3 separate regions of the Homo sapiens genome follow, and all the other regions are linked to region 2. The links are contacts of gene promoters, found by promoter capture Hi-C in blood cells and fetal thymus (Javierre and others, 2016). All regions are on one chromosome and are shown on one strand. Each heading gives the region's core, a stretch centred on a gene start or on the middle of the fragment in contact. The rest is flanking DNA. Distances are from core to core; before and after follow the strand shown. Region 1 holds the start of NME9 (NME/NM23 family member 9). Region 2 holds the start of DBR1 (debranching RNA lariats 1). Region 3 holds the start of MRAS (muscle RAS oncogene homolog).

Region 1 (3,973 bases), core at 323-2,822, 150 kb after region 2:
TATAGAGGACACAAGAACTACATCAGGTCTTCTGACTTCCAGTCTAAAAATCCCACCCCACCCCACCCCACACCCCTCCCACCCCCAGCATGGGGTACCCTTAGAATGATGCTGCTTTCCCCTTTCCTCTTTTTTAAACCACTAGGCTTTTGAAATCCACATGCAAACTGCTGGTCCTGCTGAGGACAATAAGAGAGAAACCAGATGTCTCAAAACCACTAATGCTCTATTATCTAGGAGGCGCTGTAGCCTTGGTATGCATCTTACTGGGGCCAGCTGATGATGAGGCATTTTAAGTTCGTTTTAAAATGTTCCCATGTTGCAGATCATCCAGCTGATCTCCTTATGACCAAGCACTCTCTCCTAATTCCAGGGTCTATGCCTGCATGTTTTTACCATCACTTCAGAATCAACCACTATCTATTGTCCAGGACCAAGAAGAAGAGCAGCTGCTGGCTTCTGAATTCACTTGTCCCACATGCAAATGAAGTAAGACACTCTATATAACATATGTCCAGCACATAATATATCTCAAAACATATTTGTTAATAAGTGAAATTTGATGAGAACAGTGGTGGGAAAACTGGGTCTCCACAGAGCACACAGTTACAGACTCATGCCCAAAGTCAAAAGAACCTATACTGTATTCTCTGTGCAAGCTGCAGTTGTATTTCAACAAGAACAAAATAACGGTCACATCGAGTTATGTTGATTCGTATTTTCTTAGTTTATAGTTTTATTTAATGCATGTTTAGGTTTTATGGTTGTATAAGCACTATAAATGTAAACAGCTTCTACTCAGTTTTGTTTGCATTAATTTTGTTTGCGTAAAATTTGTCATCACTGGGGTTCCAAGATAAGTTTTGTCCCTTTAAGACGGAAGGGTACATCACTCAAGTTTGAGAACACTGTCACGTACTGCTGGCAAACAGAATGTCACTTTTATACTGCAACCCCGCTCTAATCACCCTCCTCTTCCCCGAGCCCAACCCAGAGCTGGAAGCTAGCGCCCCTTGAGGCTTACCTGCAGGGCAATTTCCTTCTTCCTGCTGCCCATGGCTCTGCAAAGAAGACGAAGCCCTGTTACCGCGGCCGTGGGCCGTTCCCCCGCAGCCTCGCGACAAACCGCTGCGTGGATCAGCAAGCCCAGAGCCTCCTTCAGACAAGCCCCCCTCCTACGGCCCCCGGCCCCTTTTTAAGGTGCTTCTAACTGGCGGCAAATCAGCACACTGATACAAAGTGAACACCCCGCGAGGAAGCGGAGCCTGCAGTCCACGGGCTCGTGGCTCGCCGGGCGGTTTTCTGGGGATCTGCGAAGCCCCCTCCCCACCCCGGAGCCGGCCAGGGGGCGCGCGCAGAGGCCGGAGTCAGTGCGCCGGGCGCGGTGCAGCCTGTCGGGCACAGGGTCGCCAGTCGAGGAATTCTGACAAAAAAACGACATGGGACCCTGTTATCCCTGCTGTTCTTATGGATTACTGGGAAAGTGAGCCACTGCGAACGACAGGTACAAGATCTTCGACGCGCCCGGAGTCACCAACCGAGTCTGCCGCGACCTAGCCGCGGTCGTCATGGCAACCTGGCCCCCCCGCCAGGCCTGCCAGGAAAGCCGGCGGACACGTAAGCCACGCCCACTCTGGGCCCAACGCAGTCTCTCCGCGGAGGCTCTGAACCCAGCCAGGGAGAGGCAGGAGGGAGTCCCGCCCCTTGCCCTCCATATCGGACCATAGGAACCCACTCATTGGCTGCAGTGTTTGTCAGCGTCTGGAGGCTTCGAACCCACCAAGCAAAGACCCAGTGCATCTGTGCGTTGCACAGTCGCATCTGTGAATCCCTGCATCCCTCCTGCCCTGCCTGCCAAGACTGATGTGCAGCTTTTCTACCATCACATACCGGTATAATGTGTGCAAGGTGGGGGGTGTCTCCAGGTTTTGAGGGATCTGCAAGCGTTCTCTTTAAGGCAAAGAATATGAAATTACAAATTCAAAATTAGATATGAAAGTCAAGTGAGACACATACAAAACAGTTACAGACATTGTAGATATTAATCCAACTGTATCAATAACCACTTTAAATGTGAATAATCTGATTACACCAATTAAAAAAGAGATTGTCAGAATGGATTTCAAAAACAAACAAAGCCCAATCGTGTGTTATCCACAAGAAAATACATTAAAAGCAAAAGGATAGAGAAAGCTATACCAGGCTGACACTAATTAAAAAAATAGCTGAAGTAGGTATGTTAATTTCAAGAAAAGCAGACTTCAGAACAAGGAAATTTATCAGGTATAAACAGGGACATTACATAAAGTTAAAGGGATCAGTTATTTGGGAAGACATAACAATACTTAATATGTATGTACTTAAAAACAGAGCACCGAAATATGTGAGGCAAAAGAAGATAAAACTGCAAGGAAAAATAGGTAAACTCAGTATTATAATAGAATGCTTTCATACCATTTTTAAAAAGTAATTAATACATCCAGCAGAAGCAAATGAGCAAGGATATAGTTGAACTGAAAAATATCAAATTGATCTAATTGACATTTATGCAATATTTAGTTCAACAACAGCGGAATATAGATTCTTTCTCAAGCTCACATGGGACATTCACTGAGATAGACCACAATCTAGGCCATAAAACATAGCTTAACAAATTTAAAAGGATAGAACAAAGTATGTTCTCTGACTGCAATAGAATTAAACTAGGAATCAATCACAGCTGATGAAAGAGATCTCACAGATTTAAATAAATGAAGAAATATTCCGTGTTCATGGATAGGAAGAATTAATATTGTTAAGATATCAATTCTTCCTAAGTGAAGCATACACCAAATGATTTCCATCCAGGGAGTGCTGATACCCTGTTTGGCCATGAGGTACCCAGCAACCCTCTGTGAAGTACAGGGCGATGGGTATACTGGAGACCGAACATCTTCCTACCTGTCATCCTGCCTTCTCCCACTTCAGCTCCGAATCCACCTACTCTTTTCTTGCATTCAGTCCCATGGCAATATTCAGTTCCATGATAATATTACGCAGAGCCACAGGCAGTCCTTAAGACACCACATTGCAAACTGAGTTGACTAGATGCAAATCATGTTCATTGCCACAAGGTGGTGGTTGCTGAAGCTCTTGAATGGTGTGGAATCTCCCTTAGAATTTAGTTTCCAAAATAAAATTCAAATCAGATGCTAAATTCCTCTTGCCAGCACATGGAAAGATAGTGACATTTATTCTTTCTGAAAGGGTTAAATTTCTTACCATGTGGTCTCTATTACAAAATGTACTCACATCTTTGCCAGGCTAAACCTCAGAAACAAATTTAGGTAAACCACATGTCCCAGTTTGCCTGGGACACCCCCACTTTTCACCTGTTGTCCCATGCAATTATTAATAGCAACCCCTCTCACTTTCAAAAGTGTACAGTTTGGGTAGGGTGCAGTAGCTCACGCCTGTAATCCCAGCACTCTGGGAGGCCGAGGCAGGTGGATCACTTGAGGGCAGGAGCCTGGCCAACATGGTGAAACCCTGTCTCTACTAAAAAAAAGTATCAAATAACTGGGCCTGGTGGTGCATGCCTATAATCCCAGCTACTTGGGAGGCTGAGGCAGGAGAATCACTTGAACCCAGAAGACGGAGGTTGCAGTGAGCCAAGATCGTGCCACTGCACTCCAGCCTGGGTGACAGAACAAGACTCCATCTCAAAGAAAAAAAAAATTACAGTTTGGACAACATGGAACCTCATCAGTTTTTTCCCAGATGAATCACCTTGGGCCACTCCTGCTTTTTAATAAAACTTCCATCTTTTACATGTTTTGTGACACAGGTGAATGGTTTTTTTTGTTGTTGTTGTTTTTGTTTTTTTGGTTTTTTTTTGAGACAGAGTCTTGCTCTGTCACCTGGGCTGGAGTGCAGTGGCGTGATCTCAGCTCACTGCAACCTCCGCCTCCCGCGTTCAAGCAATTCTCCTGCC
Region 2 (3,737 bases), core at 364-2,863:
CACTAGATGAAGGGCATATTTTCATGATCAACCATTTAATAATTAACTATCTTAATTAAATTTTCACGATTAAGTATTTAAATTAATGACATTCTCCAAACACCATACATGTCAAGACACAGTCCAACTAACGCAAATCCTGATAAGCTCTTCCATCCCAGGAAAAAAAAGTATCCACAAACACAATCACATACCTAAATAATAAATGTTTGGTGCCACCCAGCCACCATAGGGTAACTCTTGCAAATGATTTGAGGCTTCATGGTTTCCCCCAATGAAGAGCGTGAGAACTGGAGCCTTTTTCTCTCCAGAGTAATACCTAGAACATAAGAGCAAAGTCAGTTACCACAATTAGGCATAGCAGAAAAGCAAATAAGTTCCGAAAAAAAAAAAGAAACTGAGTTCATCATAAAAAGTTAAAAAGCTCTTTCAAAAGGAATTGCCTGGGGCTGGGCGCGGTGGCTCCCTCCTGTAATCCCAGCACTTTTGATGGCCGACACAGGCGGATCCCCTGAGGTCAGGAGTTCGAGACCAACCTGGCCAATGTGGTGAAACCCCGTCTCTACTAAAAATGCAAAAATTAGCTGGGTGTAATCCCAGCTACTCGGGAGGCTGAGGTGGGAGAATCGCTTGAACCCAGGAGACGGAGGTTGCAGTGGGTCAATATCGCGGTACTGCACTCCAGCCTGGGCAACAAAGCGAAACTCTGTCTCAAGAAAAAAAAAAAAAAAAAAAAAAGGAATTGCCCAGTATCCATCCTTGCCCTTAGGAATGAAGAGCTTCCACCTTGAGCCTCAAGTCAGTGCCCGTTCAATTAAGTCAAGAACTGTTTCGAGTTCATTGCCATAACCTCATCTTCTAGAACCACAACAAGCACATAGCAGGGGCCCAGTAAAAACTTCAGGATCATTGAATGAACTAATTCCAGAGTCCTATCAAGTACAAGGTAGCTATCTAAACCTGTCAGCTTCTTCCTCCAGGTTATCCCCTCCCAGGCTTCGACACCCTTTGAAATGGATAAGATGTGTATGGAAAGAAGGAAAGTGACATTTCCTAAGCACCTAATGAGATAGGGTGCTAGTGAAACTGACATAATTTGGTACCTAACTGAATACAGTACCGAACTGAATACATTTCCCGCCTCCCACTACCTCACCCCTGTATTCAGTTAGGCACCAATTAGAGATACAGAGAGAACAAAGACAGGATCTAAGGGAAACAGGCAGCCAGTGGCAGAGGGAACCCAGTCCCACCCCCCCACCGCCAAGTCCGGGCCCGGCCGCGTCCTCACCTGTAGAAGGTTTGCATGTGACGATACTTGGGCGGCACGGCCATGCAGCGTAGATCCGCCTCGTTGCGCACCGCCTGGAAGTCGCCGCAGCACAGCAAGAGGTCGACAGGCCCCGGGCCGCGCCGCTCTGCCAGCGCCAGCGTCTCATAGATCTTATCCAGCTCGCCGTGGCAGCAGCCAGCCACAGCCACCCGCATTCTGCCGGCCTGAGGAGGTGAGCGCTGCCTGCAACGCCCTACACCACAGCCAGCCCAGGACCGACTGATCGCTCAGCTCCCGCCAACTTTAATAAGTATAGCCACCGCCTGGGTGTAGACTCCTGCAAAATAATTCACTTCCGGTTTCCAGATCTCGCGAGAGAGGGACCGGGAAGGTCAAACCTAATTCTGGGATCCCAGGGAACTTATTTTCTTTTTTTCCTTTTTTCTTTTTTTTTAATTATTGTTTTATGCAGTCAATATTTTTTTGTATATACATCCACAAATGTACTCTTTCCATCCTTACTCTTTTCTTCCTGGATTTCCATTTTTCTCTTTGGAATCATTTTTCTTCTGTCTGAAGAGCTCAGTTTAAGTTTTCCTGTTTGTTTAGTGTAGGCCGACGACAGATTAATTTTTTTCTAGATATTTGTTTGTTTAAAAATTTCTTTCCACTCTGGGGAAAATGGTGAAACCCTGTCTCTACTAAAAATACAAAAATTAGCTGGGCGCAGTAGCGCACGTCTGTAATCACAGCTACTTCAGAGGCTGAGGCAGGAGAATCCCTCAAACCCAGGAGACGGAGGTTGCAGTGACCTGAGATCGCGCCCCTGCACTCCAGCTTGGGCGACAGAGCGAGACTCCGTCTAAAAAAAAAAAAAAGAGACAAAAGAGAAAGAGAGAGAGAAGAAAAGAAAAGAAGCCAGTGTGCTGGCTCACACCTGTAATCCCAGCACTTTGGGAGGCAGAGGCGGGCGGCTCACGAGGTCAGGAGTTTGAGACCAGCATGGCCAACATGGTGAAACCCTGTCTCTACTAAAGATACAAAAAATTAGCTGGGCGTGGTGGCGCACACCTGTAATCCCAGCTACTTGGGAGGCTGGGGCAGGAGAATCGCTTGAACCCAGGAGGCAGAGGTTGCAGTGATCTGAGATCGTGCCATTGCACTCCAGCCTGGGTGACAGGGTGAGACTCCGTCTAAAAAAAAAAAAAAGAAAAAGAAAGAAAGAGATGTCTTTGTTTCACCTTAATTCATAAAGGGTGTGTTTACTGAGTACCGAATACCAGTTAAGCAGTGTGTGTGTGTGTGTGTGTGTGTGTGTGTGTGTGTGGTTTTTTTTTTACAAAGCATTTCAAAAATAGCATTCTATTATCTTCTGGCTTGCATTATCTTCTACTGAGAAGTCACCTATAAACTTAAGGTTTTTTTTCACTGAAAGTAATGTGGGTTTTTTGTTTGTTTGTTTGTTTTTTGTTTTTTTGAGACGGTCTCTCACTCTGTTGCCCAGGCTGGAGGCAGTGGCACGATCTCGGCTCACTGCAACCTCCGCCTCCCCAGTTCAAGCGATTCTCCTGCCTCAGCCTCCCAAGTAGCTGGGATTACAGGTGCACACCACCATGCCCAGCTAATTTTTTGCATTTTTAGTAGAGACAGGGTTTCACCATGGTGGCCAAGCTGGTTTCGAACTCCTGACCTCAAGTGATACGCCCACCTCGGCTTCCCGAAGTGCTAGGATTACAGGCGTTAGCCACCGCGCCCAGCCAGTAATGTGTCTTTTTCTTTGCTATTTACTGTTTTCTCTTTCTCTACTTTCTCTCCCTACTCCTTAAAGCTATTTTAATAAAATATATCTAGGTGGTTTTTTTTTTGAACTTTACTCATTTATGCTTTCTGAATCTATAGCTTGGTATCTTTTTTCAGTTTTGGAATATTCTTGGTCAGTATCTACTTAAATGTTGCTTTTTTTTCTGTCTTTTCCTACTCCTTTGGAATTTTTCCATGGTATTTTACCTATCTTTTATTTCTATTCCATAGTTCTCATTTTTATCAGTGTTTTATTTTGGATAGTTTCTAATAACCTCTCTTCTAGTTTACTAATCCTATTTTGTTCTATGTCCAATGTACAAACTCATTTATTAATGTTTTAACATTATAGTCCTTTTCAATTTTAGGATTTATATTGGATTCTTTTCCAGTGAAGCCAATAGTTTAAAGAGATTCTTTATCTTTTAATTTATTTCCTTCATCTTTTCCTCTCTTTCTCTCATATATTAATCATTGTTATTTTAGGTTGCCTGTCTTCTAAGCCCAATATCTTACTTATCTGCAGAGCTGATTCTATTGTCTGTTTCTGTTTCATTGGATTCTTAGTTTAAAAATCTCGTTTTTTGGCCGCGGTGACTCCCACCTGTTGTCCCAGCACTTTGGGAGGCCAAGGTGGATGGATCTCTTGAAGCCAGGAGTTCGA
Region 3 (3,724 bases), core at 969-3,468, 170 kb after region 2:
CATCTCTTACATGGGGAGCCCACGAGGGGCTGACAGGCCACCAGGATGTACAGATCCCTGCCCGCCTTCCCAAGTTCTGTGGTAAATAGAGGGGGTTGAGGGAGTCAGGTTCCAGGGCAAACCTAGACAGTCGAGGTAAACTACTGTCCCTCAAGCCTTCTCCCCAACCAGGTCTTTTACTCCCTACTGCCAAGGAGAGATACTCTTGATGGCACCCAACCTGCTGTCCCCTTCCTGGGGGACACTTGGGGTCTACAGGGTCTTTGGAGCAGCAGGTGGGAGTGGAGGCACAGGGGGTGCACAGCAGCTCCCACCAAATGGCTGCATGGGTGGCTGGGATGCCAAAGGAAGCCTGCATGGGATTAAGAGCCTCAGCATGGCAGGCAGAGCCAGCAGCACTGTGAGGCTCCCTTAGGCCTGGGGCAAACCTGAGAAGGGAGTGGGTTCCCTGGACATGTAAAGCTGGTTCTAAGTCATTGAGGTCCACCCAGAAAAAGAATGTCCTCAGAAATGATGCTGACAATCAAAACCACAATGAAATGCCATTTCGCCCCCAATAGGATGACTAGAATAAAAAAAGACACACAATTACAAGTGTTTGCAAAGATGTGGAGATATTGGAACCCTCATATGTTGTTGGTGGGAATGTAAAATGGTGCAGCTGCTTTGGAAAACAGTTTGGCAGTTCCCCCAAAAGTTAAACATGGAGTTAACATATGATCCAGGAATTCCACTCTTAGGTATATACCCAAGAGAAAGAAAAGCATATGTTCATACAAAGACTTGTACATGAATATTCATAGCAGCTTTATTCACAGTAGCCCCAAAGCAGAAAACTAAATATCCATCAAGTGATGCAGGGATAAACAAAACGTATAGACATACAGTGAAATATTACTCAGTCATGAAAAGGAATGAAGTACTGCTACATGTTACAACATGAATAGATCATTAAACATTGGTTACTGAAAGAAGCTAGTCATAGTCACAAAAGGCCACATGTTGTATGATTCCGTTTATAGAAAATGTCCTGAATAGGGAAATCCATAGAGATTGAAAGTAGATTAGTGGTTCCCAGAGGCGGAGGAAAGGGGTGAATGAGGAGTGACTGCTAACGGGTAGTTCTTTTTGTGAGGGGCAGGGGAGGGGAGTGGGAAGTGGTGAAAATGTTCTGGAATTAGCTCATGGTGATGGTTGCAAAACTTTGTGAATATGCTAAACACCACTGAATCGTACACTTTTTTTTTTTTGAGACAGCGTCTCACTCTGTTGCCCAGGCTAGAGTGCAGTAGCGCAATCTCGGCTCACTACAACCTCTGCCTCCCGGGTTCACGTGATTCTCCTGCCTCAGCCTCCCGAGTAGATGAGATCACAGGCACGTGCCGCCATGCCGGGTTGACTTTTGTATTTTTAGTAGAGACGGGGTTTCACCATGTTGCCTAGGCTGGTCTTGAACTCCTGACCTCAGGCGATTCACCCGCCTCGGCCTCCCAAAGTGTTAGGATTACAGGCGTGAGCCACCGCGCCCGGCTTGAATTGTACACTTCAAAAGGTGGAATTTTATGGTGTTGAATTATATCTTTATTTTTTTAACGGGGGGAAAATGACGCCGCTGGAGAGGAGTTAGCGGAACTGAAACAATGAAATGGTGCGCGAGTGTCGCCTGTCCCCGTCGCATCCATCCCAACGAAGTTTGGGCCCTGGAACGGTGCACCCAGAAGGCCTGCGGGGAGAGACGCTGGGGCATGATCTGGAAGAAAGACGTCTCAGGATTCGAAGGGAATGCAGCTAAGGTGGCGGCGGAGGTTCGCCTAGGACTGGGGAGGCGTCCCTAGGCTCAGAAGTTGGCCCGGCCGGAGCGGAGATTTAAAGGTTGGAGCGCAGAGGCTCTTAAAGAGGCCGAGTCGAATTCCCACTCGGCGTCCACCTTAAAGCCAGCTCCCCGGCACCACGGATCTGACCCGGGTAAGTGCTGGGCCGCGGGAGAGGCTGCGGCGCCGACCCCAGCCCCTGGCGCTCTAGCGCGCCCTGCCGGGCCCAGGGGACTCGGCGCGGGTGGGCTGGACTTCGTAGGCGCGCGTCCTGGGGGCCGGGGTGCACGCGGGGGCGACAGGGTCGAGGCACCCGGCCCGGGCTCCCCACTGGCGCGCCCGCAGCGGCGCTCTATTTTTAGCAGGCGCTGTGGCAATATAAGGAATGCGCGGCGCGCTAGGCGCTCGGGGCGCACGCTGGCGGCGCGGTCGCTTTAAGGAGGCGCCGGGGCGGGGACGGACCGGAGTGGCCGGCTGGCGGGGAGCCGTCAGTCCGGCGGCCGCGGGGCCCGGCGGGCGCGACGCTGCCTCCTCACCGGCGCAGGCTAGGAGGGGGCGGCCTGAGTGCCGTAGCCGAGCCGGGGCTGGAGCGCGCGGTGAGTGGTCGGGCGGCCTTGGAGGGGAGGGGGCCCGGCCGCGCCGCCTCTCGCCCCGGCCGTCGCTTTGTTCCGGGGCGGGAGGTGTGGCCGCCCTCCGGGCTCGGCCGCGCTCTCCGCTTGCGGGGTGCGCCCTGGGACCGGCTGTGCGTGGCGTTTTGCCCCCATCGCGGGCTCCCGCGTAACGGTGTGCGTTCGTGAAATCGGCCACGACCAAGACCCCAGTGGGGAGGGCCTGCGCGCCGCTCAGAGAGACCCTTTCATGGTAATTACAGTTCCTTGGCTGCCTGGGCGAGAACCCGGTGGATAGATGGGCGGCAGGACGGGGCGGCGGGGGATGGGTGGGTGGGTGGGGGACTCTTTACCCCCCCGCCTTAAGATGGCGTTAACGAGGGGAGGGATCCGCCAGGGAGTTGACAAATTCATCTGAATAATAAAACGCAGCCTGCTTCATAAACAACCCTTCACTGCCCCCGGAGGTTTGGGGAGCTGGAGCTGTGGTCACAACTAGGGCCTGGGCTCATGCATTGAACTGATCTGGCTGAGGCATCAGACACGGTGCCAGTCCTGCCCTGCGGGGAAGACAAGAGCACAAAGTGACAAGCCAGTGTGGTAAGTGCTGAGATTCGGTAAGCCCAGGGGTTGTGGGAGCCCCTAGGGGTCCCTACTGCAGAGTGGGAGGTGAGAGAAGGCCGCCTAGAGGAGTTAATGTCTGGCTGGCCGCAGCGTATACACTGGACACCCAGTTAGACTCTGGCTAGAGCTGAGGTCTGTTCTGGCCTGGGGCAAAGTGGAGTCTGGAGAGGTGGACAGAGTCCATCAAGGCCACTGGGGCCTTGATCATAGAGCTCTGCCATTGCCCCTACTCCCCAATGGCCCCTGATGGTGTGGAACCTCCCTGGCCTTGCTCCTCTAGGACTCACTCTGTCCTGGACCTGACCAGAGAGGGTGGCTGACAAGGCTCGGAATCGTGGCCTCCAGAGGTTTGTCTGGCAGCAGAAGTAAGATGGAGATATGACTTTAAGAGCTCTGAAACTCCACTGTAATAACAGCAACCAACAGGGCTTCCAAAGACCAGGCACTTGAAGTGGATTTGCTCATCATTTGACAAGACACCTCTTGACAAGACACCTCCAGAAGGATTTTGTTTATTGTAAAGGATGGAGGAACTGGGGTGAAAAAGAGCCAACAGCTTGCCCAAGATCATATCTGAAGTCCATGCTTTTGGCCACGTGGCTGTCCTGGGCTTCGGAAGGCTCTGGTGCAGCCTGTGTTAGAGTTTTGTAATATATTGTTTTATAATTATTCACTATAGAC

Evidence for each region. The method cuts DNA at HindIII sites, captures the fragments that hold promoters and counts their contacts. A CHiCAGO score of 5 or more calls a contact.
Region 1: the fragment with the promoter of NME9 here is called in contact with the fragment with the promoter of DBR1 in region 2 in 4 of 17 cell types (erythroblasts, non-activated CD4 T cells, naive CD8 T cells and 1 more); the score reaches 7.1 in erythroblasts.
Region 3: a contact is called between the fragment with the promoter of MRAS here and the fragment with the promoter of DBR1 in region 2, in 4 of 17 cell types (non-activated CD4 T cells, naive CD8 T cells, naive CD4 T cells and 1 more). The highest score is 6.3, in non-activated CD4 T cells.

The regions. Positions count from the first base shown.
Region 1 is chr3:138,328,279-138,332,251 of GRCh38, forward strand. NME9 (NME/NM23 family member 9) reads right to left here and starts at 1,573. Exons shown (of 11, transcript NM_001349018.2): 1 at 1,025-1,573. The coding sequence starts at 1,057. LOC124909438 (a long non-coding RNA gene) reads left to right here and starts at 1,655. Exons shown (of 2, transcript XR_007096113.1): 1 at 1,655-1,892. The HindIII fragment of the contact is 16,828 bases long and covers 1-3,973 here.
Region 2 is chr3:138,173,308-138,177,044 of GRCh38, forward strand. It overlaps DBR1 (debranching RNA lariats 1), which reads right to left and starts at 1,614. Exons shown (of 8, transcript NM_016216.4): 1 at 1,292-1,614; 2 at 195-319. The coding sequence starts at 1,488. RefSeq lists an enhancer at 1,320-1,529. The HindIII fragment of the contact is 14,113 bases long and covers 1-3,737 here.
Region 3 is chr3:138,346,361-138,350,084 of GRCh38, forward strand. MRAS (muscle RAS oncogene homolog) reads left to right here and starts at 2,219. Exons shown (of 6, transcript NM_001085049.3): 1 at 2,219-2,407. RefSeq lists an enhancer at 1,731-2,686. The HindIII fragment of the contact is 4,446 bases long and covers 1-3,724 here.